6 separate regions of the Homo sapiens genome follow, and regions 1, 2, 3, 5 and 6 are each linked to region 4. The links are contacts of gene promoters, found by promoter capture Hi-C in blood cells and fetal thymus (Javierre and others, 2016). All regions are on one chromosome and are shown on one strand. Each heading gives the region's core, a stretch centred on a gene start or on the middle of the fragment in contact. The rest is flanking DNA. Distances are from core to core; before and after follow the strand shown.

Region 1 (4,522 bases), core at 1,245-3,744, 140 kb before region 4:
TGCTCTGCCCCTGGGGCTCTCCAGACCCTCGAATCACCTTCTCCCCTAGGAATGGTGACCCAGGGATTCCAGGTATAGGGGCTGCCCAGGGCTTGGTACCTAGGGTAGGATTGTCTTATGGGTCTGGACAGCTGGGAAGAAATCACAGGCATTTCGGGGGGAGAGAGCAGCTCAGCTGACAAGCCTTGGCCCTCATGACAGAGGTGTTCCACCCAGCTCTGCGTCCTGCCTTTTTCAGTTTCTCCTAGGGAAGGGACTGCAGCCATAAACCTCTCCTCTCTCACAGAGCTGCTCAGTGGGGCCAGCGGGCCTGTGGGTGCTGTTGGCATCCTGCCCTGGGAGATTGCCCGTGTGTGGCAATAATGGCTTGAATCCCTGGCCCCACACATCTCTAAATGCCTTGAGCAGGGGGGAGGCTTTGGTGCCCCCTCACCCCTTTGAGAACCACCTAAGAGGACTACTCCTTCTAGAAACCTTCTCCCATGGACGTGGTTAGACTTTCTCCCTGCTGAATTTGGATTAATGAGCAAACAACCCGAGGAAGGAGGGAGATGGGGTCCGAACCCAGGTGCCCTGGGCCCCAAGGTGAACACGAGTCCTCCTGCTCTCCTTCCCTTCCCCTCACGGAGACGCCTCTCTGAGCTGGGGAGTCTTGTTTGGGATGTGGATGGAAGGGAAGGCTGGGCATCTGGAGCACCAAGGCACTTTTAGAGGAGCTCCCGCAAGGTGAGTGGGGGCTTTGGTTGAGTACATAGGGCTTTTGGCAGACAGGAAGTGGAAAGCGTGGCCAGCCATCTTTGTGATTCGGGGTAGTCTGCTGCTGGCCCTTCCCTTTCCCCAGAGCTCCAGACGGCTCTCAGGACAGTTGGTAGCAGCTCCCTCCTGGCTGCACCAGGAGACCAGAGAGCCGAGCTGGCTATGAGTCAGCCCCGTGGCCCAGCAGCGGGATAAGGGGATTCTCAAGCCAGCCTGGTCTGCCCAGCAGCAGGCTGGGTGTGTGGCTGCCTGGGAGCAGTGGACACTGGGTTCCAAACACCTTCCGCTGGGGTCTTCAGATGACCTCTGCCTTTATCAGGTGACTTATGAATCTAGAAAGAGCCCGCTTGACTGACAAGAGAATGCTCAGGTGACATGCATAGAATAGTTACTGAAGCCACTTGTACATTCTGATAGCAGTGACTTTAGAAAACTCCAGAAGTGGAGGTGTAGAAAATGTTGGAAGAGCCATTTCCACAGTGGGCTGCTGTGCAGTTGAGACCCATGATCCCAGTTCACCAAGCACTGAAGAGTGTGGTGAGCATCCTGTGGGCAGCAGGTGAGGAACTTGGATTCCTCCTGCTGTGTGTCCAGCTCTACAGCTGTTGCAACCCTGGAGCTAAGAGTAGTAAGGACTCCCTTAAAGGGAAAGGTAAGTTGGGCTTGGCCGTGAAAGCACAACAGCTTTTACAAAAGCACTGAACTTTCCATTCCTTCTGCTTTTCTCTGAAGATCTCAGTGTCTTTTCATTTACTTTCTTTTAAAATAGTGGCCCTGGAGCAACCTGGACGGTGTTCCCTTGAGCTGGTGTGACGTGCCCTCGTTTATTCTGACATCCAGCCCAGTCTCAGTACTGTTGTCATAACCTTACGCCAGACTCAGGCAGAATGTAAGCCATTCACTCGTGAGCATCGCAGCCGCTTGTGCTGCCTGGAAGCTGCAGGGCCAGGACTGCATTTTCAGTTTGCAATTGAGGTCTCCTGATTTTGGTGTTTCCAAGACTGGCTGCTATACCTTGATAAGCTTTCCTTCTGCCTCCATGAAACCTGGTGTCTAAAAAAGATCAACTAAAACTTGGAACCCTTTAACCAAGAGGACCTTTAAAAATAACCTTTCATTCCAGTCAAGACCCAGCTGGATGCATTTTAAAGTTGGGAGTGGCGAGGAAGCCTTCCTAGTGCCGCCCGGGGAATGTAAAACCACCAGAGCAACAGGTTGGGACAGTATGGTCAGGCCTTGGAGGGAAAGAGAACCAGTATCCACACAAGACCTCGAACTTGTGTGGCCCCTCAGTTTCATCTCTCCTGCCTGCCATCACATTAGACTTTAATTGGGTGAGAGAACAGGGCAGAGACTGTCACCTGCATTTTGCAGATGGGAAGTAGAGACAGAGAAAGTGACACGCCCAGGGTCACCCAGCGGTGACCAGCAGCGTGGACTCTGCATCCAGGTCTCCTGGACCTTGATGCAGTATCTTTTGAGACATGCCACTCTAGTCCCTTTGGTGACCCGTGGGTGCCAAGAGAAAATAATTCTTATATCCTGATAAGAGCATATTACAATTATATTATTTCAATATGTGTCCACAGCAAAGGACAGTTTACAAAAATGTGAATCCGAATGACATTTAGGAATGTTTGTTATAAATGATAAGTTCCACTTTGGAATGATTCTGGTTTTGCAGGAATCTTTCCAAGAAAGTTGGTTAAAATGATGTCTCTGCCTGTGAGGCCAGTTCTATGGAAAACAAACACACCCTGAGTTCTTTATTGATGGCTTTAGTGGAGGCAGAGCAGTATGTTCAAAACAAGTGGGAGGCCCTGAGATCGCAGGAATGGAAACAGAGTTCTGGCTGGGGGTGGCCTGTCCACTGCCCGCCCCTTCCTGGAGATGCACTCCTTTCTGGCTTTCTGGGGAGGGAGCAGCCTTGCTCAGTGGTGGGAGCAGCTTGAACGGGACCTGATCAACACCCAGGAAGACTGTGCACAGAGGGCAGTTGGTCTCCAGCCTGCAGGCTCCATGAGCACAGCCTTGATGGTGGTGGGCAGGCGCCTGCCTGCTGTGGACTACATTTGATGCAAAACATCAAGTAAAGGGTGGAGCGTAATACAGTGAATATGCCTCCCAGAAACATCATGCTCTGCCTATTTTAACAGGGCTCTTTTTCTTTAGAAAAGTCTCCTTCTCTATAGAAACCAGGGACAATTTTGGATGAGAGCCAACCACAGGACGCGCTGGGGACGTTATGGTGGGACCTCACATGTGGCCAGGTGCACCTTTGGGAAGAAGGCAGACGTGATGTGACTTAGCACAGGCACTCAAAAGAGGCAGCCACTGGTCTTTGCTAATATCCAGAAGTGGATTGTTTGTTCCATTCATCCTTCTAGAAGCTAAATTCTTTCATTGCCTTGAGACATCACTAGATTTTGAAGCACTTGCAAACTAGAAGCTTGCAAGATCAATGTCCATGTATATTTTTAAAGATATGCATGCTTTAAAAGGACCCTAATTTCTGAGTACATGGCTTCCCCAAAGAAACAGTATATATTCTGGAGATGATGGGGGTTTTGGCATGGAGAGGGACTCCTGTCTAGTCTAGAAAATGTTACTTACATGCCTCTTCCATGTACCGATCTCAAGAATATGGGTTTTCTAGTTGGCTTTAAACACTACCCAGGCAGGAAGGTGGCTTTGGTAAGAATTTTGAGCTGGATGAAATGTTCTAGTGAACTTACGACTGTGTATGTGCGCACGCGTGTGTGTGTGTGTGTGTGTGTGTGTGTGTGTGTGTGTGTGTGAAGAAACAGCAAAAGGGGAAGTGGGAGAAACAGTAAGGAAGCGTTTTTAATTAAAAATATGTATACCTAAGAGGAGACTTTATTTTCTATTTCTGGTGGTGGTGATCTATGTTCTGGAATCCATTTACCAGAAGTTTGTGGATCTTTTGTTTGAAGTGGAATTGTTCAGTGCCCTACTCTCTTTGACGGTGCAGAGCCTTGCGGCAAAGTGTTCTCCTGGGCCCTAGAGACCCCCAGGGCACCTGGCAGGAGCCCGTAAACCACGGCAGAGTCCCAAGTGGTGCATGTTTTGGCGAGTGATGGGCAGGACTGATGATTCACAGCTGTGAGGCTGTGCTATTGTTTTTACCCTCTTGTACTGCTTTTAATAGGAAGTCCCGACTTTACGTCAGTTGTGAGAGCAGCGTCTTATGATGTGACAGGCAAGAAGACATTCCTTGCATCAAATATAAGAGTTTAATGAGAAGAGTGGAGTGGATAAGTGAACTCTCCCAAGAGTACTGTTTTTTGTTTCCCTTTTTAAATGCTTTCTTGGTACATAAATAATATAATACTTTTTTTAAAGAAATTCCAGATGAGTGGGAAAAAAACCAATCACCTGTTATTACACTATCTGATTATAACCACTGTTAACATTTCAGTTTTTATCTTTTCAGACTTTTTTCTATGCATCTGTGTGTGTTTTATTACTTTTTCCATGAAATATAATCATATTATACATACTGTTTTATAACTTTTATCCCTTTTAATGCTATATTGTGAATAGATTTCTATATCAGTAAATATGTAATTACATTATTTTTAACCTCTATGTAGGTTGTACCTTGGATACTTAGGTTGTTTCCAATTTTTTTACTGTTGTAGTCAAGGACATAATGAAGTTCTTCTAACATCCTTGCGAACTTTTCAGAATATTGACTTAGGGTAATTTTCTGAAGTTATCACTGGCTCAAAAGTACGCGCCTCCC
Region 2 (4,142 bases), core at 1,053-3,552, 250 kb before region 4:
GTACATCCTTGAGGACCCAACTCACACATCCCCTTTTTGAAGTCTTCTGCAGGAACTACCTTATTCATACCTCGGTTACATTATATTTAGCTTATTGTTTAAGGACACAGACTGGCTCAAAATAGGTGCTCAGTTAAGATTAAATAAATGGGTAGGCCGGGCTCGGTGGCTCACGCCTATAATTCCAGCACTTTGGGAGGCCGAGGCAGGCGGATCATGAGGTCAGGAGTTCGAGACCAGCCTGGCCAACATGGTGAAACCCCGTCTCTACTAAAAATACAAAAAAGTAGCCGGGCATGGTGGCGCATGCCTCTAATCCGAGCTACTTGGGAGGCTGAGGCAGAAGAATCGCTTGAACCCGGGAGGCAGAGGTTGCAGTGAGTGGAGGTCGCGCCACTGCACTCCAGCCTGGGTGACAGTGTGAGACTCCGTCTTAAATAAATAAATAAAGAAAAATGGGTAGATGCTATCAAAATCTCTGGAGGCATCCAGGACACATAGACTTAGGAGAGCCCTGGATGGGAGAGGCAGAGGACAGATGGGACTGTTGGAAATCGTTTATAGCTCACCTTCCTAAGGGCAGGCCCTTGGCCTGATTGGAAACAGCAGGGGCTAGGGCTGGTGGTCCCATACTGATCTGGTGTCATCTTAAAGAGACAGCCCATAGTCTTCTCTGATCCTTAGGTGCCCTGTAGAGGGGTCCTGAATCTATGGAGGGCTCTGGATACAGATTGGCAAAGTGTTATCTGGCAGGAAGTACACAAGCTGTTTCCATGGTGGGGGCAGATTGAGAATCCTCAAACTGTACTAAATTTTAAAATGTTGATTATATAAGAACCATTTTGACAATATTAATTCAGTCACAATAAATGAAAATTTCACCCTAGTTCCACCATTATAGCCAGTAATAATAATAATAATACCTGTAATGTATTGAAGATGTACTATACTAGGGACTGAGCTAAGCACTTTACAGATATGATCTCATTCACTCTGTTTTTTTTTTTTTTTGAGACGGAGTCTCACTTCTGTTGCCCGTGCTAGAGTGCAGTGACACAGTATCTTGGCTCACTGCAACCTCTGCCTCCTGGGTTCAAGTGATTCTCCTGCCTCAGCCTCCCGAGTAGCTGGGATTACAGGCATGTGCCACCATGCCCAGCTAATTTTTATATTTTCAGTAGAGACAGGGTTTCACCATGTTGGTCAGGCTGGTCTTGAACTCCTGACCTCAGGTGATCTACCCGGCTCAGCCTCCCAAAGTGCTAGGATTACAGGTGTGTGCCACCACACCTGTTCTCATTCACTCTTCTTAATAGTCCAAAGAGATATCGCCACTTCGTAGATTAGAGCGCTGAGGCTCAGAGAAGTTAAAAACTTGCCCGTGGTCACAGATAGTCAATGGTAGATCCAGGACTTAATGCAGGTCTGAGTCTAATACTGATGCCTTTACCCTATATTCCTTCTGCCATCCTAATAAACTTTTTCATTTTCTATACTCCAGGCCTTGTCCATATTTTCTAATTTTACATAATTATACTCATAGCACAGCTGTAATTCAGATTATTTTACAAACTTAACTTTATATCCTAATACACATCCCATCCACCAAGTCTTATTGAGTCTACCTCTAAAATATCTATAATCTGTAATCCACTTCCCTTCATCTCCACCCTTATCTTTTGTCTAGAGCCTCTTAACCAGTCTCCATGTTTTACTCTTGTCCCCTTCTTATCCCCTCTTCTCCCAGGAGTGAGTGATATTTTAACAATATAAACCAGATCACGGCATTCCCCAACCCATCAGTGGGTTCTCACTGCATTTGAATAAATTGCAAATCCTTAATCCAGCCAAAGGGCCCTGCATACTTCACCCATGCTTTGCTAAGCTCACTGCACTCTAACCACACTGGCCTTCTCCCAGCTCTTCAGAACAGCATGATTCTCTACCACCTCAGGGCCGTTGCAGTTTCCTCTGCTTGGAACCCTCCCCTCATGCTCCCCATGACTGATGCTTCTTTGTCTTCAAGCCTCTTCTTTTTTTTTTTTTTTTTTGAGATGGAGTCTCAATCTGTCACCCAGGCTGGAGTGCAGTGATGCAATCTCAGCTCACTGCAACCTCTGCCTCCTGAGTTCAAGTGATTCTCCTGCCTCAGCCTCCTAATTAGCTGGGATTACAGGCATGTACCACCATGCCTGGCTAGGTTTTGTATTTTTAGTAAAGATGGGGTTTTGCCATGTTGGCCAGGCTGGTCTTGAACTCCTGGCCTCAAGTGATCTGCCTGCCTTGGCCTCCCAAAGTGCTGGGACTACAGTCATGAGCCACCACACCCAGCCATCAGGCCTCTTTTTAAATGTCTCTTCAACAGGCCATTCCTGACCATCCTCCTCAACCTAAATTAGGTCTCCTATTCACACAGATCGTAGCTTATATATTTGTGTGATTATTTGATTAATACCATTCACACAATCTTATAGTCCTATGACAGAAGGACGTCTGTTTTGCTGAGCACTTTATGCCCAACACAGTACCAGATACACAGCAGGTGATCAACATTTATTGAAAGAATAAATATATTTCTATGTTACTATATAGGCTTCACAAATATAATGTAATAGCTGCATAATACCCGACAGTTATCCCTTTAATTAATGGCTTTAATAATACATTTGTTTCATATGCAGTTGAAAGAACTGACCTTTTATGGTTAGAAAAAAAAATGTTTGAAGTCCCTGGACCAGCCATACCAGAAATCTGAGCACACTAATAACAACATTATGCATGTACATGGTGAGCCTAATTTTGCTGTTGAAAGTAAAAATACAGGCCGGGCATGGTGGCTCACGCCTATAATCCCAGCACTTTGGGAGGCCGAGGCAGGCGGATCACAAGGTCTGGAGATCGAGACCATCCTAGCTAACATGGTGAAACCCCATCTCTACTAAAACTACAAAAAAGTAGCCAGGTGTGGTGGCATGCGCTTGTAGCCCCAGCTACTCGGGAGGCTGAGGCAGGAGAATTGCATGAACCCAGGAGGCAGAAGTTGCAGTGAGCCAAGATTGCGCCACTGCACTCCAGCCTGGGCAACAGAGTGAGACTCCGTCTCAAAAAAAAAAAAAAAAGAAAAAGAAAAAGAAAGTAAAAATACGTAGATTATAGGTTTTGAAATCAATTTAGTAGGTTATGAGCAGTACTGCTTTTAAAAATAGAACAGAATGGGCCGGGCACGGTGGCACACGCCTGTAATCCCAGCACTTTGGGAGGCTGAGGTGGGCCGATCACGAGGTCAAGAGATGGAGACCATCCTGGCCAACATGGTGAAATCCTGTCTCTACTAAAAATACAAAAATTAGCTGGGGTGGTGGTGCGCGCCTGTAGTCCCAGCTACTTGGGAGGCTGAGGCAGGAGAATCGCTTGAACCTGGGAGGCGGAGGTTGTGGTGCCCTGAGATCATGCCACTGCACTCCAGCCTGGTGACAGAGCAACACTCTGTCTCAACAACAACAACAACAAAACAGAATGATGTCTGAATGCCTGCCTGGCAAGTGAGAGGATAAACATTGTTTTATATAACTTTTTGTTTCTATTTTATATCGATATACCTATAGACATAGTATGTATGTGCTGAAGTATGTACCAGGTTGCAGGTTGTAGTGTAAAATATATTTCTTACTGTGGATTGTAGTTTAAAAAAATGAAAAACTCGGCCAGGCACGGTGGCTCATGCCTGTAGTCCCAGCCCTTTGGGAGGCCGAGGCGGGTGGATCACGAGGTCAGGAGATCGAAACATGGTGAAACCCTGTCTCTACTAAAAATACAAAAAAAAAAAAAAACTGGGCGTGGTGGCATGCGCCTGCAGTCGCAGCTACTGGGGAGGCTGAGGCAGTAGAATCGCTTGAATCTGGGAGGTGGGGGTTGCAGTGAGCCGAGATCACGCCACTGCCACTGCACTCTAGCCTGGGTGAGCAGAGTGAGACTCCGTCTCAAAAAAAAAATAATAAAAATAAAATAAAAATGAAAAACTCTGATTTCAGTGGCTTGCCTTTGAAGTTATTCGAACACTTCAGAATCCTCAGGTATTACCTGATAAATGACTTGTTCAGTGTTCTACAAGCTCACTTTCCTGATATTGCTGATTACTATGC
Region 3 (4,590 bases), core at 434-2,933, 220 kb before region 4:
TTCAGATCGGTGGGAGGGAGCCCAGCTTTGGCTCTGTGTGGGCATCTGAGGGAGCCTAAGAGCACCTCTCACAGTTGGGGTGTGCACAGGGCAGGAGGCAGGAGGAGAAGGCCTGTGATGCCGCCAAAAGCTTTGTCCAAACCTTGTTCTGAGGAGTAAACAGCTTTGAACATTGCTGGGTTTTCCTCATCCTCAGAGAGAGTGTCTTGAGGGCCGAGCTTTGCGGGAGTGATGAAGCCCTTGTGGAGGCTCAGGGGTGTGGCTCAGGAGGCAGCGCATTAATTCTCATCTTAGGGAGTGCACCATCAGCTTGTCTTGGGGCCTCAATTACTCCTCTGTGGTGTGAGAATACTGTTCCGTATGGCATTGCCTTGGGGTGTGGTGGGTAGCTCTTCCCCAGGTCTTTTTTTTTCTTTTTTCTTTTTTTTTTTTGAGACAGAGTCTTGCTGTGTTGCCCAGGCTCAGGCTGGAGTGCAGTGGTGTGATCTTGGCTCACTGCAACCTCCAGCTCCCAGGTTCAAGCGATTCTCCTGCCTGAGCCTCCCAAGTAGCTGGGACTACAGGTGCGCACCACCATGCCTGGCTGATTTTTGTGATTTTAGCAGAGACAGGGTTTTGCCATGTTGGCCATGCTAGTCGCAAACTCCTGACCTCAAGTGATCCACCTTCCTTGGCCTCCCAAAGTGCTGGGATTACAGGCGTGAGCCACCACGCCCGGCCCTCTTCCCTACATCTTACTCGGGAATGAGCTCTCCTGCATAGGCCTTTGCTTGCCCACCTAGATGGTCTCTAGCATTGGGCTGTCTTCCATAATATGGATGGAGTTGGGTGAGAAGAGTGCTGAATTAGGCCCCCCAGGCCTGGGTTTGAGCACAGCTTTATCTCGTAGTAGAAAGTCCTGTCTTCCCCTCACCCAGTGTGTTCCTAGTGATGGTTAGGGCTCCTGTCTTTCTTTGGCACTAACAGAATCAGATTCAGTAAATTTAAAGTGACTCCTGTGAGACAGAACTGCTGGTTAATTGAGTTTGACTTTGTGAGAGTGTCCTCTCTTTTTCTTCTGTCAGTTTTGTTTTGTTTTGTTTTGTTTTGTTTTTTGAGACGGAGTCTCGCTCTGTCGCCCATGCTGGAGTGCAGTGGCGCGATCTCGGCTCATGGCAACCTCTGCCTTTTGGGTTCAAGCGATTCTCCTGCGTCAGTCTTCTGAGTAGCTGGGACTACAGGTGCATGCCACCACACCCAACTAATTTTTTGTATTTTTAGTAGAGACGGGGTTTCACCGTGTTAGCCAGGATGGTCTCGATCTCCTGACCTCGTGATCTGCCTGCCTCGGCCTCCCAAAGTGCTGGGATTATAGGCATGAGCCACCGCACCTGGCCTTTTTTTTTTTTTTTTTTTTAAAGCAGGCATGCTTCACCAAGGATGAAATATTCTGAAAAACTGGAATTGGAATCCCACAGCCTGATTGAAAGCCATATCACTGGCTTCAAGGGAGGGAGCTAAAAAAAGCTACTCCTTGGCTTCTCCCATGAATTTTAAATGTTCTGAAAGCTTTGCCTTGAGAAGGAAACAATGCCTCATGCCTTAAATAATTAAGTGGAGTACACTAAGAATGGCAGTGTCAGCCCAGGCTGGTCACACTGTGGCCCCAGGGGGCCTGTCTCTCAAGGGCAGAGCTCTGTGGGTGCTGGACGAAGTTGTCCTCATAGCAAAAATTGGTACAGCTTCAAATACTGCCTTTTAGGCATTTGGTGAAATTGGCATAACCCTGGAAATGTCATAAAAGAGGATGAAGGTGGCATGTGGTAGAATGCAAGCTTTTTTTTTTTTTTTGATACAGTGTCTTGTTCTGTCGTCCAGGCTAGAGTGCAGTGGCTAGATCTTGGCTCTGTATGGGCAACTGAGGGAGCCCAAGAGCACCTCTCATAGGCGGGGTGTGCACAGGGCAGGAGGTGCACAGGGCACACTGCAACCTCCGCCTCCCGGGTTCAAGTGAGTCTCCTGCCTCAGCCCCCCCAAGTAGCTGGGATTACAGGTGCCCGCCACCACACCCGACTAACTTTGGTATTTTTAGTAGAGACGGGGTTTCATTATGTTGGCCAGGCTGGTCTCAAACTCCAGACCTCAAGTGATCTACCCTCCTCGGCCTCCCAAAGTTCTTGGATTACAGGCATGAGCCACCACACCCAGCCAGAATGCAAGTTTTCTGCTGAAAAGCTGCATCCATCAGCTGTTTGTATCAGACAAACAGTGAATTCTTAGCTGGCCTTAATTTGCCCCTCCACTGCCACATGACTGTCCATGTGGGATGACTGTGGGCCAGGCCCAAGTCTGTATCCTCCCAACAACTATAGTATTGGCAGTGGTTTCTCTGTACACTTGGTGGAAACTTCTGGAGAATCTGTGCAGGGAAAAGGCTACTTTATCTTCAGGCAGAAGACCCTCCCTTCAGGGGCAGTGATGGCATCTCAGAGCTGCTTCCTGGCTGTCTGTGCACTCTGTGATTGCACCGGACGCTTACCTCTGAGGCTGCAGGATGGCATGCTGTACAGACGTCAGGTCATGCCAGGCGGTCCTTGTGGTATCTTACATGGTTTCTGTGGAAGAGTGAGTTCTGCCGGGGTAACTAATACTTATTGACTCCCTTTATACGGTATTTCATTTGAGCTTCACATTTTATGGATAAACTAGAGTTGAGAGAGGTGGAGTGACTTGGTTAAGGTCACACAGCCAGCACACAGAGTGAAGTTGGTGGTTATGTGTGTGGTCCGACCCTGAGGGAAGTCACCCAGAGGGTCACATTTTGTGAGACTTTTATAGTTCCATGAGAAAAACAGCCTTTATTTCAAGAGTACAACTTGAAGTCTAAAACCAAAAGCAGAGATGTGCCTCAGAAAAGCTGTGTTAGGCCGGGCGTGGTGGCTCACGCCTGTAATCCCAGCACTTTGGGAGGCCGAGGCGGACGGATCACTGGAGGTCGGAGTTCAAGACCAGCCTGACCAACATGGAGAAGCCCCATCTCTACTAAAAATACAAAATTAGCCAGGCGTGGTGGCACATGCCTGTAATCCCAGCTACTCGGGAGGCTGAGGTAGGAGAATCACTTGAGCCCAGCAGGCGGAGGTTGAGGTGAGCCAAGATCCTGCCCCTACACTTCAGCCTGGGCAACAAGAGCGAAACTCCGTCTCAAAAAAAAAACAACAAAACTGTGTTAGCATACCTGTAACAGGGTGGAGGCTAGTAGCCGAGGCTTCCTTTGATTTTTTTTTTTTTTTTTTTTTTGATAGTCTCACTCTGTCACCCAGGCTGGAGTGTGCAGTGACGCGATCTCGGCTCACTGCAATCTCCGCCTCCTGGGTTCAAGTGATTCTCTTGCCTCAGCCTCCCAAGTAGCTGGGATTACAGGTGTGTACCACTACACCTGGCTAATTTTTGTATTTTTAGTAGAGACGGGGTTTCTCCATGTTGGGCAGGCTGGTCTTGAACTCCTGACCTCAGGTGTTCCACCCGCCTTGACCTCCCAAAGTGCTGGGATTACGGGCGTGAGCCACCGTGCCTGGCCTCCTATGGATTTCTTTTGCTCAGAACCTGCTAAGCCGTTTTCCTTGTCTTCCCTTTCTCATCCATCTATCTCCCAGCTTCTCCCTGGTCCTTTTTCTCAGGTTTCAGCAGAGTTTCTCAGAATGATTTAGTTCTTTGATCCTGTTGGATTGTATATTACGATCACTTCTATGAAGGCATTATTCAGATTACGTGGTAGGAATCTAAATCTCAAATAAGTTAAGCCTGTTAGGCTGGGTCTATGATCGGCTGTATTGATACTAATCTTGACACACAGCAGGGTTGTAAGCTCCCCAAAGCCCACATTGCTCACCCTCTTTTTGGCCTTGAATCAGAATCTTTTCCATACCCAGCAATGATTCACACTTTAGATGGTCGTCTGCATTGTTGATTGTCTCAAAGATGCATGACAGCTTTTTTTTTTTTTTTTTTTTAGTTTTTATTTTTTTGCCAGTTGTTACAGCTGTTTTTTTGTAGATGGGGCTCTCCTGGCTGTAATAGGATTCATCTGTTGGGAATGTGAGAGGGAAGGTGATGTGGTTTTCGGGACTGGTTTCTCAAATCAAACAGCACTTTATCTCCATAGAAGTTGGGAGTTTCAAGCTCCTCTATCCTAGGTGAGAGGTGAGACTGACTTTGAGAAGTGAAATTTGGTTCTTTATGCATCTTACAAAAATCGGTTGTTTAATTTATTTATATGCCCTTTTTCTTGGAGCAAGTCTACCCATTAAAGGCTAAACTAACCTAGTGAATAACGAATGCAGCTTGATGAAGAAGTTACAGTCTAAAATTATGATCTGAACCTAGATAGGATCTTGTTAAGTATTTATTGCTGGTTATTCATGGTTGCAGTCTTCTAGGTAATCTGTTTTTATTTTTTATTTGCTTTTGTTTTCTAACCAAAAGAGAGCTGGAGTAGGTAATCTGGTTTTAGAATGAAAATTTTTAGGAAGTCTTTGGAACTGTTCTTGGTAACAGGTAAAGTCCATTTCCCCCTACATCCATGCAATTAAATATTTGCATGGCGGAAAC
Region 4 (4,118 bases), core at 400-2,899:
TCCCTGAGGTCTCAGGAAATGGGGGTGCGGGATCACAGGGCATAGGACCTAAGCCTGGCTCTGATCCGCACCCCTCTGGCGATCCCCGCAGGCAAGAACTCAGGAGGCTGTGGGCTCCTGGGAAGTTTCTGGGCTCCTGGAAAGGCATCGTATCCAAACAGGGGCAGCGCCCGCTGCTGCGCTCCTGCTGGCGCGTGCTGCGCAGAGTGAGCGAAGCGACGGACGCGGACCCACCATCCTATCACTCCATGCGCAGCAACTGTGTGCACTTTGCACTGTGTCTGCTCGTCCCAGGTCCCAGCCTGGACCCCCGGCAAATAGACGGGAGCTCCAGCAGGTCGGTGAGCGTGGCCCAGCTACCTGCACAGGACCCATCCCACCTCCTGAGCAGACTAGCCAAAGCGCCTTATAAACGCGCAACTGCAAAATCCAGGCCCTTCTCTTCCCACTCCCCACCCAGGCCAGTTTTCTCCAAATTCAAGATCCACTTTTCTCTGGCAGGCACAAAGCCACCGGAACCAAGCGGACCCACCCACTTGTCTAGGTTATCCCAACAGAACCTTCTCATTACCCCAATAGAACCTTACCCCAGTAGAATTACCCCCAATAGAACTTTTCTACTGAGCCAAGCTCCACCTTTCTGGGCCCCACTCCTTCCCAGGTAGGCCCGCCAATTCTGCCCATGGAGACTTCGGGATGCTAGTTACAGACCAAGACTCAGGCCTTAGGAACTCCTCCAGTCCCCATGCCCAGCTAAAAGACTCCAGCCACCTCAACTGATGCCCAACTGGATCCTACCTCTTCCCCCAGCCCAATTCACTACTTTCCATCGGATCCAAGCCTTCCTTCCTTGGGCCTAGGGGTCACTCGGGCTCGGGAGCTGAACTGGAGGGCTCACATGACTCAGGAGCCCTGGTGGTCACACCAGACCCTTCTCTTCCTTTTCAGGTGTCAATGGACGTGGACGTGTCCCCGGATTAAGCATGACCTTGGCCCTCCTGGGTGGACGTGGAGGCTTCAGAAAGATTCATTAAACTACTTTCCAAAGCTTAATTAGATGTTCACCGTCCTCTGTATCCTGTTTCCCATCTCTCTAAGCCCCCAAGGGCTCCTCGGAGCTCCCTGACCTTAATTCCTTAAATTCCGCCACCTCCAGGAAGCTCCTCGGCTTCCTGCTGCCAAGCCAGATTTTGTAGGAAAGGTGGGGCGGGAAAGGGAGCGTCCTTAGGTATCTGAGGCCGGTCCTCGGGTGCGGTGACCCCTTCCCGCTCTAGAACCCCCAGCCTGCGGGCACAGCCTTCTTTCCAGTTCCCGCTTTCCCTCCACGGCGTGGGTGAGCATCCGCGCGTGCGTCTGGGGAGAGCGGAGCCCCAGAGGCCCGTCCCGCCGAGGCCAGGTGGTCGGGGGTGGGGGCAGCTATTCCACATCCCCTGCAAGACGGTCCCAGCGTCCGTCCAGCAGACTCGCCCACCTTTAGATCTGGAGACGAGCCAAGTCGCTTTAAAGGGCAGAAGACGCCCTGAAGAGGGCATTTCCTAGGGATGGGCGGGGCCAGGCCCTGACGCACCGCCCCTGTCGCCTCCTCGCGGACACGCCCTCCGCTCGGCTGGCGCCGGTGCCTTTAAGACCTCAGCGCGCGGCCCTGATTGAGAAATCCGCGCGCAGCCTCCGCCGCTGCACACTGCAGCCTCTGCTGAACCCCTGCCGCGCCGCCGCCTTCGCCAGCCCGGACCGGACCGGCCCGCCTTCCCTTCCTCCGCTCCAGCCGGCCTCCGGCCCCGCAACCTCCTCCTCGGCGAAGTCTCCCTGGCCGCCCCATGTCGGCCGCCCCCGCCTACAGCGAAGACAAGGGCGGCTCCGCTGGCCCCGGGGAGCCCGAGTACGGCCACGACCCCGCGAGCGGCGGCATCTTCTCCTCCGACTACAAGCGGTGAGGGAGCCCGCCAGGAAGCTCGCGGGAGGGTTGGGGCCGGGGACCGGGCGAGGCGCGCGGGCACCATGGACAGCGCCCGGCCCCAGCGCCGGCCCCGCCCCGGCCGCGCCGACCGGAAGCCCGCCCGGCCCCCTCCTGCGGCCTGGAGCCCCGGCCCAGCGCGGGCAGCGCTGGCACCCCGGCTCCAGGGGCCGGCCTAGGACGCGGAGGGGGGCAGATAGGGGCTGGCGGGGGATGGGCCAGCTCAGTTTCGAGAGGAGAAACCCTCCGGTTCCAGGTGTTTCTCCGGTTTGCGGCGTTGCGTTAGGGGTTCCCTTCCTTTTTCGTGCTAGGCGGGTTGGCTTCCCAAAAATGTGGGGGAGGGGTCTGAGTCAGCGAACTTGAGCTTGAGCCTGGGGCCTCTTCAGGAAGGCGGGCCCTGGATGTACTTGCACAGCCTCCCAGCTTGGCCCTGCTGCAAATTCATTTCCCCTCCCTCTGGTCCCCATCTCCATCTGACCCTCACATCCCTGCTCCTGGCATTGCCCCTGTAGTTCAGCTCCACCTTCACACCCTCCCCCACCTTTGATTCGTTCGTTTGTTTCTTCATTTGTTTATTCGTAAATTCTGCAACAAGCATTTATGAAAAGCCAACTGTGTCGAGTCCTGAACTAGTCACGGAATACAACTGTGAACATGAGACCCTTCTTGTCCTCACGATGCTCTAGAGGGGAGCACAGATGAAGAAGCAGTCAGGGACAGTCGAGTGTAATGGGGGCAGTGGGAGCAGGGAGAGGACCTAGTCTCTGGCGCCGGAGAGAAGGAAGACAGGAGCGTGAGGTATGTTCCAGGCAGAGGAAAGGGCTTTCAGGAAGGTTGAGAGCCAGGCCACAATCTGTGTGAGCCACTGGACTGACCAGAAAAGAGGGTGGGGAGGACTCCTGAAGGATTCTAAGCAGGCGACATAATCAGATTTATATTTTAGAAGGACGTCAGGCTGCTGCATTGTGGAGAAGAGATTGGAGGTGGGCCAGATTGAACAAGAGACAAGGGAGGTGGGTCTTGAAGTTCACAGGCCTGGCATGATTGTGGCCTAGACCAGGGGAGAGGCAGAAGATTTGAGGCTGTGGAAGAGGTGGAAGCCTCAGACCTGATGATTAATTGGATATTGGGTGGGGGTTTAGAGGGACAGGGGGAGAAGATGAGGATTTTCACGCACGTCCATGTGAAGAGACCACCAAACAGGCTTTGAACAATAAAGCTTTTTAATCACTTGGGTGCAGGCCAGCTGAGTCCGAAAAAAGAGTCAGCGAAGGGAAATGGGGTGGGACCGTTTTACAGGATTTGGGTAGGTAGTGGAAAATTACAGTCAAAGGGGGTTGTTCTCTGGCGGTGGGGGGACACAAGGTGCTCAGTGGGGGAGCTTTTGAGCCAGGATGAGCCAGGAGAAGGAATTTCACAAGATAATGTCATCAGTTAAGGCAGGCACAGGCCATTTTCACTCTTCAGTTACTTCAGGCCATCTGGATGTATACGTGCAGGTCACAGGGGATATCATGGCTTAGCTTGGGCTCAGAGGCCTGACATTCCTGTCTTCTTTTATTAATAAGAAAAATAACATAAAATAGTGTTGAAGTGTTGGGGCAGCAAACATTTTGGCGGGGGGTGGTATGGAGAGATACTGCTTCTCCATAGCCTTGAAGGGCTGCTTCGAGCGGGATTGGGGTGGCGTGGGAACCTAGAGTGGGAGAGATTAAGCTGAAGGCAGATTCTGTGGTAAGGGATGATATTGTGGGGTTGTTAGAAGAAACATTTGTTGTATAGGATTATTGGTGATGGCCTGGATACGGTTTTGTATGAATTGAAAAACTAAATGGAATAAGAGAAGGAGAAAAACAGGTATTAAAGGACTAAGAATTGGGAGGACCCAGGACATCCAATTAGAGAGTGCCCAAGGAGGTTCAGCATAGCCCTGCCAGCAAAGATTATTTATTTACTTTAAGAGGGAGTTAAGACTGGCAGTTTGGGGATAGCACCAGGAGATATCAGCTGTAATGGTTTGGAGAAACAGTGTAAACCGGCAGTGTAAACAAGAGCAGGGCATGTATGAGTAGTTGAGTATGGTGAATAGGAGTATGACTAGTCAGAAGATAGTAGGGATGACAAGTTTTCTGGGGCACAGTCCAAGTTGGTCTGGTGTCTGGAA
Region 5 (4,145 bases), core at 165-2,664, 160 kb after region 4:
TTAGCTTCAGTATCTCCAGAGCACGTACCTTGCCGTGCAAGCACCTCTCTCTCTGTGGCTCTCTGCCAGGGCTGATACACCTTTGGGTGGTTTTCAGGTGCAGGTGATCCCCTGGGTATTAGCCGACAGTAACTTTGTCCGGAGCCCATCTCAGAGGCTTGACCCCAGCAGGACGGTGTTTGTCGGTGCTCTGCATGGAATGCTAAATGCTGAGGCCCTGGCAGCCATCTTGAACGACCTATTTGGTGGAGTGGTGTATGCCGGGATTGACACAGATAAGCACAAGTATCCCATTGGTAAGTGTCCCACTTCTGTGTGCGAAAGCTTGGTTGGCCCCTGGGAGTAGACCAAGATTGTGATACTTCCCCATGGGAGTGAGGAGAGAGGCCTGACCCAGGTCTGCAGATCAGCATATACCAGCACCATAATATCTTTTTCTAGACAAGTCACGAGTACTGGCCCTTCTGTATCTAGCCCTCTACCCACCATCTCCCACGCAGTGGGAGAAAAAGCTATTGGAGACTACAGGAGGTGATAAGAAGTGAGAGTGAGGTAGGAACTTTGTTGGAAGCTCAGAGTTCACAGCGAAACCAGTTTGGAACAGACAACAGGTACTATTTCATGAAAAGGCTGCAATTCTCTGAACTTGCCTGGAGTTTTTTATTAAAAGTTCTTGAAAAGCTCTGGCATTGTCTAAGGTCAGAGACCAGGTCAGGCTGGAGGAGGACTTTCTGAGTGAGTCAGGCAACAGAGTGTGGCCTGTGCTTTCCTAACTCAGAAGTCTGTGGGCCTAACCACTAGGTTTTGATCAGCTCCTCTGAGAAAGGAGGTCAATTCGCCAGTCCTGGCAAAATGTCAATGATGAGGTATGGAGGTGGAGCAGAGCCTGACCTCTGTGATTAACATGTGGCTAACCCACCTCCCCAAATGCTTAGTCTTCACACCCACACTGAATCTGGTCAGGAAGGAGCACCATGTACTCACCAATACTGTGCAGCAGATTGAGAACAGGGACTTCAGAAGCCCCAGGAGCGGAGGAGGAACTTGGCAGGATGGGGCTTCTTCCAGCTCTCTTAATAGGTCTCCAGAGTGCCTAAGGGCTAGGAGAGGTTCAGTTCAACTGCTGGGCTTACCCTTCAGACAAGTGTTCTATCTGCATCTTGGCTTCCACTCTGAATCCTTTAACCTTAACCTATGCTCTACCTGCACTGAAGGAGTCCCTTATCTTTCCTTCCCATCTTGATCTGCAAATTCTTCCCCCATTCCTGAATGGTTCACGCTAACATGATCTCCACTGTCAAATATGGTACGAATATGGTAGCTACCAGCTAAATGTGGCCCCATTGAGTTTTGGAAACACAGCTGTTGTCACATTTGGAAATAATATTATTAACATATAGGGTTAAATAAAATTTTTTTTTTGAGATGGAGTCTCACTCTGTTGCCGTGCTGGAGTGCAGTGGTGCTATCTCAGCTCACTGCAACCTCTGCCTCCTGGGTTCAAGTGATTCTCCTGCCTCAGCCTCCTGAGTAGCTGGGACTACAGGTGTGCGCCACCACGCTCAGCTAATTTTTGTATTTTTAGTAGAGACGGGGTTTCACCATGTTAGCCAGGATGGTCTCCATCTCTTGACCTCATGATCCGCCCACCTTGGCCTCCCAAAGCACTGGGTTTACAGGTGTGAGCCACCGTGCCCGGCCAATAAAATATATTATTAAAATTAATGTCACCACTGTTTTAAAATTTCAGTGTGACTACTAGAAAATTTAAAGTTACATAAGGGCTGACCATGATGGCTTATACCTATAATCCTGGCACTTTGGGAGGCCGAGGTGGGGCAGATCGTTTGAGTCCAGGAGTTCAAGACCAGCCTGGACAATATGGTGAAACCCTGTCTCTACAAAAAAATACAAAAATTAGCCAGGCATGGTGGCTCATGCTTGTAGTCCCAGCTACTTGGGAGGCTGAGGCAGGAGATTGTTTGAGCCTGGGATGCAGAGGTTGCAGTGAGCTGAGATCACGCCATTACACTCCAGCCTGAGTGACAGAGGGAGACCCTGTCTCAAAAAATAAATAAAGTTACATAGTAGCTCACATTATATTTCTGTCGGACAGCACTAGTATCGTAAAGGGTTTCCTGCATTTTAAAAGAGTAGCATTAGGGCAGGCTCGGTGGCTCACGCCTGTAATCCCAGCACTTTGGGAGGCTGAGGCGGGCGGGTCACAAGGTCAGGAGATCAAGACCATGCTGGCTAATGGTGAAACCCGATCTCTACTAAAAATACAAAAAATTAGCTGGGTGTGGTGGCAGATGCCTGTAGTCCCAGCTACTCGGGAGGCTGAGGCAGGAGAATGGCGTGAAACCGGGAGGCAGAGCTTGCAGTGAGCAGAGATTGCGCCACTGCACACCAGCCTGGGCGAAAGAGCGAGACTCCATCTCAAAAAAAAAAAAAAAAAAAAAAAAAGTAGCATTTGGGAGAATTTGGTTAGAAGGGAAGCTTGTGTCTGTTGTCCTAGGTTCTGGTCGTGTGACTTTCAATAACCAACGGAGTTACCTGAAAGCAGTCAGCGCTGCTTTTGTGGAGATCAAAACCACCAAGTTCACAAAGAAGGTGAGTTGGCTGGTTTATGCCCTTACTCTGGGGTATATGAGAGGGGTTTGGGCAGTTACTACCCAGGGCAGGCCTGAGACCTGAAGCTGTTTGTGCTGGGTGTGTTTAGGGAAGTGAGCCAAATTCCTGAGAATTAACATTGAGGTTAGGGTTTGGGAGTGGGCTTGGTCTTTGTACGCCCAGGAGGAAGGGAACTGGGACTGTTGAGCCTCTTCAGTGTGTAGGGTGCCTTCCCTCACTGTGGTATTTCTTTGGCATTGCTCAGTAGCCTGACTTCCTATTTTCCAACCTTTTGGGAATCCTCCGAACACTTGCCTATACTGCTAATTGATAGAGGGCTGAGGTACAGTTTGCCTAGAAGACCAGGCATTAAGGTGTGTGGTTGCCTGAATCCCAGAGGCATCCAGCCTGACTGTGCATGGTGTATGAGTCTGTCCTCTAGAACTCCTTTCTGTACTTCAGGCCCATAATTCTCTCCAAGCCTCCTTTAAAACAGGCAAATATCCTGCATTCCAATATCCCGCATTCCTGTGTGTGGCCAATAATGTGCCCTTCTTCTATCGCCTATCGAGCCTCCTGGTAAGAAGAGCCACTTCATCATCTTATTTTGCCTTTGTGCAGGTTCAGATTGACCCCTACCTAGAAGATTCTCTGTGTCATATCTGCAGTTCTCAGCCTGGTCCTTTCTTCTGTCGAGATCAGGTGGGTCCGATGTCTATGAAGTCCCTGCCCTCTATTAAAAATTGTTGGCTGGGCGCGGTGGTTCACACCTGTAATCCCAGCACTTTGGGATGCCAAGGTGGGCGGATCAGGAGGACCAGCCTGGCCAACATGGTGAAACCCCGTCTCTATTAAAAATACAACAATTAGCCTGGCGTGGTGGCAGGCGCCTGTAATCCCAGCTACTTGGGAGGCTGAGGCAGGCGAATAGCTTGAACCCAGGAGGCGGAGGTTGCAGTGAGTCGAGATCACGCCACTGCACTTCAGCCTGGGACAGAGCGAGACTCCGTGTCAAAAAAAAAAAATTGTTATGCCAAGTTCATGACATTGAATGTTGGAGTTCTGAGGTACCCTGTGGTGTCTGAGAGCATAGAGGAGGCAGCAGTAATGTTTGCTGAAGGTCAGACCGGGACAGACATACTTTAGATAGCTTGATCCAGAACTCTTAAGAAAATATGTTGAATTGAGTCTTTATACTTTGGTCTTTTTCTTGCCTGGGATATTGCTATGCAGTATGCCACTATTGCTGAGAGGTGGTTTTGTAGATGATGGAAGCCTGGCTGGGTGTGGTCAGCAGCACGTGGGAGCCAGGCTCAGCTGCCTAACCCTGAAGCCTTCTAAGCTGATTTTTCTGTAAAGGAGGATGCCTCGTCCTCCTTTACATCTGAACTTCTGGACGACTTTGATATTTGCATCTGGGCTGTACCCACAGGTGTCAGCGACAGGCAGAAAGCAGCGAGGTGGCTTTCTATTGAATGTTCCTGGGTGATGGAATGTGGATCTGGATGTGTTTGGCAGTGCTTCTCAAACCT
Region 6 (4,588 bases), core at 1,697-4,196, 160 kb before region 4:
TTCTTCAATCTTTAAAGGAACCCAAGCAGCTAGGTAGAAAGGGGGGAAGGTTTCTATGAAAAGAATCGACAGCAAGAACTCCCCACGAAAACCAGAACACATTGTCCAAGTTAAATGCTCTGTGCCTCTCTGAGAACTGAAGAGACCTTGAGCTGTGCTGGCTTCCAGGGATGGCCACATCTAATTTTTCCCAGACAGAAGAAAATGTCCTATCATTAAGGAGGAGTGCACCGTCCTGCCAAGCCACTCAGCCTCTGGTGCAGTGCTGGAGTTCTGCTCGGTGCCCACAACCTCCATCGTCACAAAGACTTGTCAGAGAAGCCCTCAGATAACCCCTTTGTCCAAATGTTTCAAATCAACTTCTTCCCCTGCTCTCTGAAGGAAATGATTAACCACACGCTGATAAATTATCATGAAGTGAGTCTGGCCATCTCAACAAGTGACAGTTAGCTAGCACAGAGGAACTTGGCCTCCAGGGCTCCCAAGGCGTGTGCTGAGGGGACAGCCAGGCTGAGTATTCCTGACTTCCCAGAGCAACCACCCACAGCCCTGTAGGGAAATGGTAATCAAGCACTATAACTAGGCTAGAGAAAGGAACACCAGTGTGGACATTTTCATCTAAGAACACTTTATACATACTTCCCTCTCTACCCCCCAGAAAGAAAATAGATGCCTTGGTCTTAACTGCTCCATTATAAGGACTATTTCCCAACCACAGTCCAAAAAGTATTATTACAGGGCAATTTCCTGCTCTTTAGATAGGCTGTCCAAAAATAGTAGAAGCTGTGTTTTCTCAGAAGTAAACTGGGACTCGTCTGTCCACCCACTGGAGAGGACATAAAACCCCAGCCTACTGAAGGAAATTGAAAAGGCACTTGCATGTGCTGATAAAAGGAAGAGCTTATGAAAGGAGACAGAAGGAGGAACAAATATAAGAATGAGCCAGTGGTTAAAGTTTAGTTTCTTTCTGGCATTTGACCTCGAGTTGTCACTGTTCTAAGTTTGGTTCCATCTTATTCATTACAGGCAGAAGGAAACATATTCTGCCCTTAATGGGGAGCGACCCAGGATGGCGTTGCCAGTGCACCATGGTTGATCTGGCCAAACCCCGATACGTGCATGGCATTTGCTTTTGACCCACTTCAGTGATTTCATCTGTAATTCAAATTTGTCCCCATGTAGTCACTTTATTCACTCAGTATCGTAAGAACATTGTTTTATCTCCTCCCTTTCTGGGTCCTGATTTAACAGCTAATGTTTAAAATGGAGGATATTAATAATTATTTTGACATGTTTTAGGTAGAAAGCTTTTGGCTGCAAGTAACAGGTAACCTAATCACCGTGCTTAAATACATGGGATAATTTCCTCTCATGTGAAGAAGTCCTGAGGCAGGTGGTTGCTAGTACAGTGGCTCCATGATGTTGGGTCTGACAATCTGCATGGATTTCATTTGTTTCTTTTTTCTTTTATCGGCCTTTCCTTTGTGGTGATAAGATGGCTTCTAAAGCTCTACCCATCACACCTGCATTCTTGGCGAGAGGGAGGAGGAAGAGGCTGGTACCACAGCAACCCCCCTGGCAGACTTCTGGGGCCCCATTATCAATGCTGGGTCCCTAGCCCATTCCCCTACCCCACCAAAAACCAGGGAAACGGATTTCCATGATTGGCTTAGACTAGCTTTCATTCTCTAGCACCTAGGAAATTTCCTGCTCCAGAAAAACTTGAGACTCTGTTAAGCTACGGGAAAAGAAACAGATTTTGAATAAACAAACAGTAGTGTTTGCTTCAGGTCTTCAATGGCTAAGGCCAAAAGAAGCCACAAATGAAATCAAACAGTAATGGTTTCATTTTCTATCATGATAATGATTTTGTTTAAAATTATTACCACAATTTTAATAAGTACCAAAAAATGACCTTAATGAAGATGTGAGAATTTTGCAATACATTTCGGAAACCTTTGCAATTTGAATATCCTTTGATCCATGGATTTCATTGACAAGAATCTATTCTAAGGAAACAATTGTAACTGAGTATAAGGATATCAGTACAAAGATTGCAGCATCATTTATAACATAAAAAAAATTTAAAAGCCCTAACATCCAGTACTAGGAAATTGGTTAAACTGCAGTGTATCCTTCAGGGTAATATGTAGCGATCAAGATGTGTAATAGAGGCTGGGCGTGATGGCTCATGCCTGTAATCGGAGCATTTTGGGAGACCCAGGCGGGTGGATCACCTGAGGTCAAGAGTTCGAGACCAGCCTGGCCAACATTGTGAAACCCTGTCTCCTCTAAAAATACAAAAATTAGCTAGGTGTGGTGGCAGGCGTCTGTAATCCCAGCTACTTGGGAGGCTGCAACAGGATAATCACTTGAACGCGGGAGGCAGAGGTTGCAGTGAGCAAGATCACGCCACTGCACTCCAGCCTGGGTAACAGAGTGAGACTCTGTCTCAAAAAAAAAAAAAAAAAAAAAAAAAAGATGTTTAGTAGAAAATCATATAATTGCATGGAAGTATTAATATCATATTGTTTATTTCAAAAGAGGCCATAAAATGAGATATATAATCTATTTTAAAAGAAATGTAGGTAATGAATGCAAATATACAGACAGAAAAATATCAGAAGATTATGTGGTTTGTTCTTATCTTGGATGATGGTGTTGCAGGGCAGGGGAGCTCATAAATTGGGGCTCCACCTGGGAAGGTTCTTGGCTTTGCCTGGGAGGGAATTATGGGGTGAGTTGGTGGTAGAAGAAAACAGCTTTATTGAGGTGGCAGTGTTACAGCCCTGTGGCTGCTCCTGCAAAGCAGGGATACCCTGTAGGCAGTGTGTCGAGAGGAGCAGCTATGCGGCAGTTCTGTGGTCGCATTTATACCTACTTTTAATTACATGCAAATTAAGGGGCAGGTTATTCAAACATTTCCAAAAAAAGTGTGGTAACTTCTAGGTCATTGCCAGGGAATGAGTAAACTGTCATGGCTCTGGTGAGCCCATTAACCAGTCTTCCGTCTAGTCCAGAGTTGAGTCCTGCCTCCTACCTCAATGGGACTGTAGGTCTAAATATATATATATATATATAGCTGAGCGCAGTGGCTCATGCCTCTAATCCTAGCACTTTGGGAGGCCAAGACAGGCGAATCACCTGAGGTCAGGAGTTTGAGACTAGCCTGGCCAACATGGTGAAGCCCCGTCTCTACTAAAAATACAAAATTAGCCGGGCGTGGTGGCGCATGCCTGTAATCCCAGCTACTCAGTAGGAGGCTGAGGCAGGAGAATCACCTGAGCCTGGGAGGTGGACGTTGCAGTGAGCCAAGATCGTACCACTGCACTCCAGCCTGGGAGATACAGTAAGATTCAGTCTCAAAAGGGGAAAAAAAAAAAAAAAAATATATATATATATATATAAAATAAATAAGTGATATATATAACTTATGTAACTTAAAAGTTAAAAAATATATATTTTTCCAGATCATCTCCCTCCTCCTACCCTCCACCCTCCACCCTCCAGTAGGCTTCTGTGTGTGTTGTTCTTCTCTATATGTCCATGTGTTCTCATCATTTAGCTCCTACTTATAAGTGACAAATGGGATCTAATTAACCTAAAGAGCTTCTGTACAGCAAAAGAGACTATCAAAAGAGTAAACAGACAACCTACAGAATGGGAGAACATTTTTGCAAACTGTGCATCTGGCAAAGGTCTAATATCCAGCATCTATAAGGAACTTAAATTTACAACAACAACAATAAAAAAACCATTAAAAAGTGGGCAAAGGACATGAACAGACACTTTTCAAAAGAAGACATACATGCAGCCAACAATCATATGAAAAAAATATTTTTTTCTAAATTGTATTTTCCAAATTTACAAGCATATATATATATTTTTTTAAGAATAAGGGGGAAATATTAGAAAATGCAAGACTTGGAGGGAGGCGATTTTTCACCAAAGGACAATTACTAGGCGGCTCTCATGACTGGCAGTTTTCTTCTGCTAGTTGGAGGCTTTGAGAGGAAGTTTCTCTCTATCATTCTCCTAGGGCCCACTGGGTTGTTTCCAGTGTTCCATATTTGTAGACAATGCTGGAATTAACATCTTGGTATTGAGGGCCTTTTTTCCCCCCATATTCTCAATTATTTTGGCAGAATGGTTTCCCAGAAGCAGTATCACTGGGTCAGTAGGTATGAATGTTTTTTTCACTAACAAGACATATTTCCAAATAGTTTCTCAGTGGGGCTGCACCAATACACAACACTACCAGAAATATCTTGCCAGCACAGGGAATCTAATTGTCTTTAGTGTTTGCTCATTTCACAGGCAAACAATGGTACCTCGTTATTTTGATTTACATTTCCAACAAGGCTGAATGGTGTTTTCTATAAGCTGTTACTGCATTTTTTATTCCTGAATTTTGCCATTTATTTACTGGGCTTGTCATACTTTTCAGTTTGTACAAACTCTTGCCATACTAAAGAAAATAGCCCTTTTTCTGTTGTACTAGCTTAGCTATAGATATTTTCCCAAGGCTGTTGTTTCCCTTCTGGTTTAGTTTTTTTTTTTTTTCCTTTTATATTCAAAAGCTTTAAAT

What was found. The method cuts DNA at HindIII sites, captures the fragments that hold promoters and counts their contacts. A CHiCAGO score of 5 or more calls a contact.
Region 1: a fragment that was not itself captured here is called in contact with the fragment with the promoter of AP3B2 in region 4 in 3 of 17 cell types (total CD8 T cells, naive CD4 T cells and activated CD4 T cells); the score reaches 6.5 in total CD8 T cells.
Region 2: a contact is called between a fragment that was not itself captured here and the fragment with the promoter of AP3B2 in region 4, in 5 of 17 cell types (non-activated CD4 T cells, naive CD8 T cells, naive CD4 T cells and 2 more). The highest score is 6.5, in non-activated CD4 T cells.
Region 3: a contact is called between a fragment that was not itself captured here and the fragment with the promoter of AP3B2 in region 4, in 5 of 17 cell types (total CD8 T cells, naive B cells, erythroblasts and 2 more). The highest score is 6.9, in total CD8 T cells.
Region 5: a contact is called between a fragment that was not itself captured here and the fragment with the promoter of AP3B2 in region 4, in 1 of 17 cell types (M2 macrophages). The highest score is 5.9, in M2 macrophages.
Region 6: a contact is called between a fragment that was not itself captured here and the fragment with the promoter of AP3B2 in region 4, in 1 of 17 cell types (total CD8 T cells). The highest score is 5.1, in total CD8 T cells.

What each region holds. Positions count from the first base shown.
Region 1 is chr15:82,844,251-82,848,772 of GRCh38, reverse strand. It overlaps a transcript of HOMER2 not described here. Among named protein-coding and RNA genes, the nearest start is that of WHAMM, 37 kb to the right of the region's middle. The HindIII fragment of the contact is 1,426 bases long and covers 1,782-3,207 here.
Region 2 is chr15:82,954,149-82,958,290 of GRCh38, reverse strand. It overlaps a transcript of HOMER2 not described here. Among named protein-coding and RNA genes, the nearest start is that of HOMER2, 3.5 kb to the right of the region's middle. The HindIII fragment of the contact is 5,260 bases long and covers 1-4,142 here.
Region 3 is chr15:82,928,343-82,932,932 of GRCh38, reverse strand. The region is part of intron 1 of HOMER2 (homer scaffold protein 2); the gene reads left to right. All of the region lies in intron 4 of LOC105370928 (a long non-coding RNA gene), which reads right to left. Among named protein-coding and RNA genes, the nearest start is that of HOMER2, 22 kb to the left of the region's middle. The HindIII fragment of the contact is 266 bases long and covers 1,551-1,816 here.
Region 4 is chr15:82,707,406-82,711,523 of GRCh38, reverse strand. It overlaps AP3B2 (adaptor related protein complex 3 subunit beta 2), which reads left to right and starts at 1,649. Exons shown (of 27, transcript NM_001278512.2): 1 at 1,649-1,930. The coding sequence starts at 1,818. It also overlaps the pseudogene LOC338963. RefSeq lists silencers at 1,596-1,645, 1,866-2,125. The HindIII fragment of the contact is 2,125 bases long and covers 1,051-3,175 here.
Region 5 is chr15:82,545,611-82,549,755 of GRCh38, reverse strand. CPEB1 (cytoplasmic polyadenylation element binding protein 1) reads left to right here. Exons shown (of 13, transcript NM_001365242.1): 10 at 98-296; 11 at 2,519-2,613; 12 at 3,235-3,315. Among named protein-coding and RNA genes, the nearest start is that of RPS17, 7.2 kb to the right of the region's middle. The HindIII fragment of the contact is 2,175 bases long and covers 327-2,501 here.
Region 6 is chr15:82,867,343-82,871,930 of GRCh38, reverse strand. All of the region lies in intron 3 of HOMER2 (homer scaffold protein 2), which reads left to right. Among named protein-coding and RNA genes, the nearest start is that of WHAMM, 60 kb to the right of the region's middle. The HindIII fragment of the contact is 3,273 bases long and covers 1,310-4,582 here.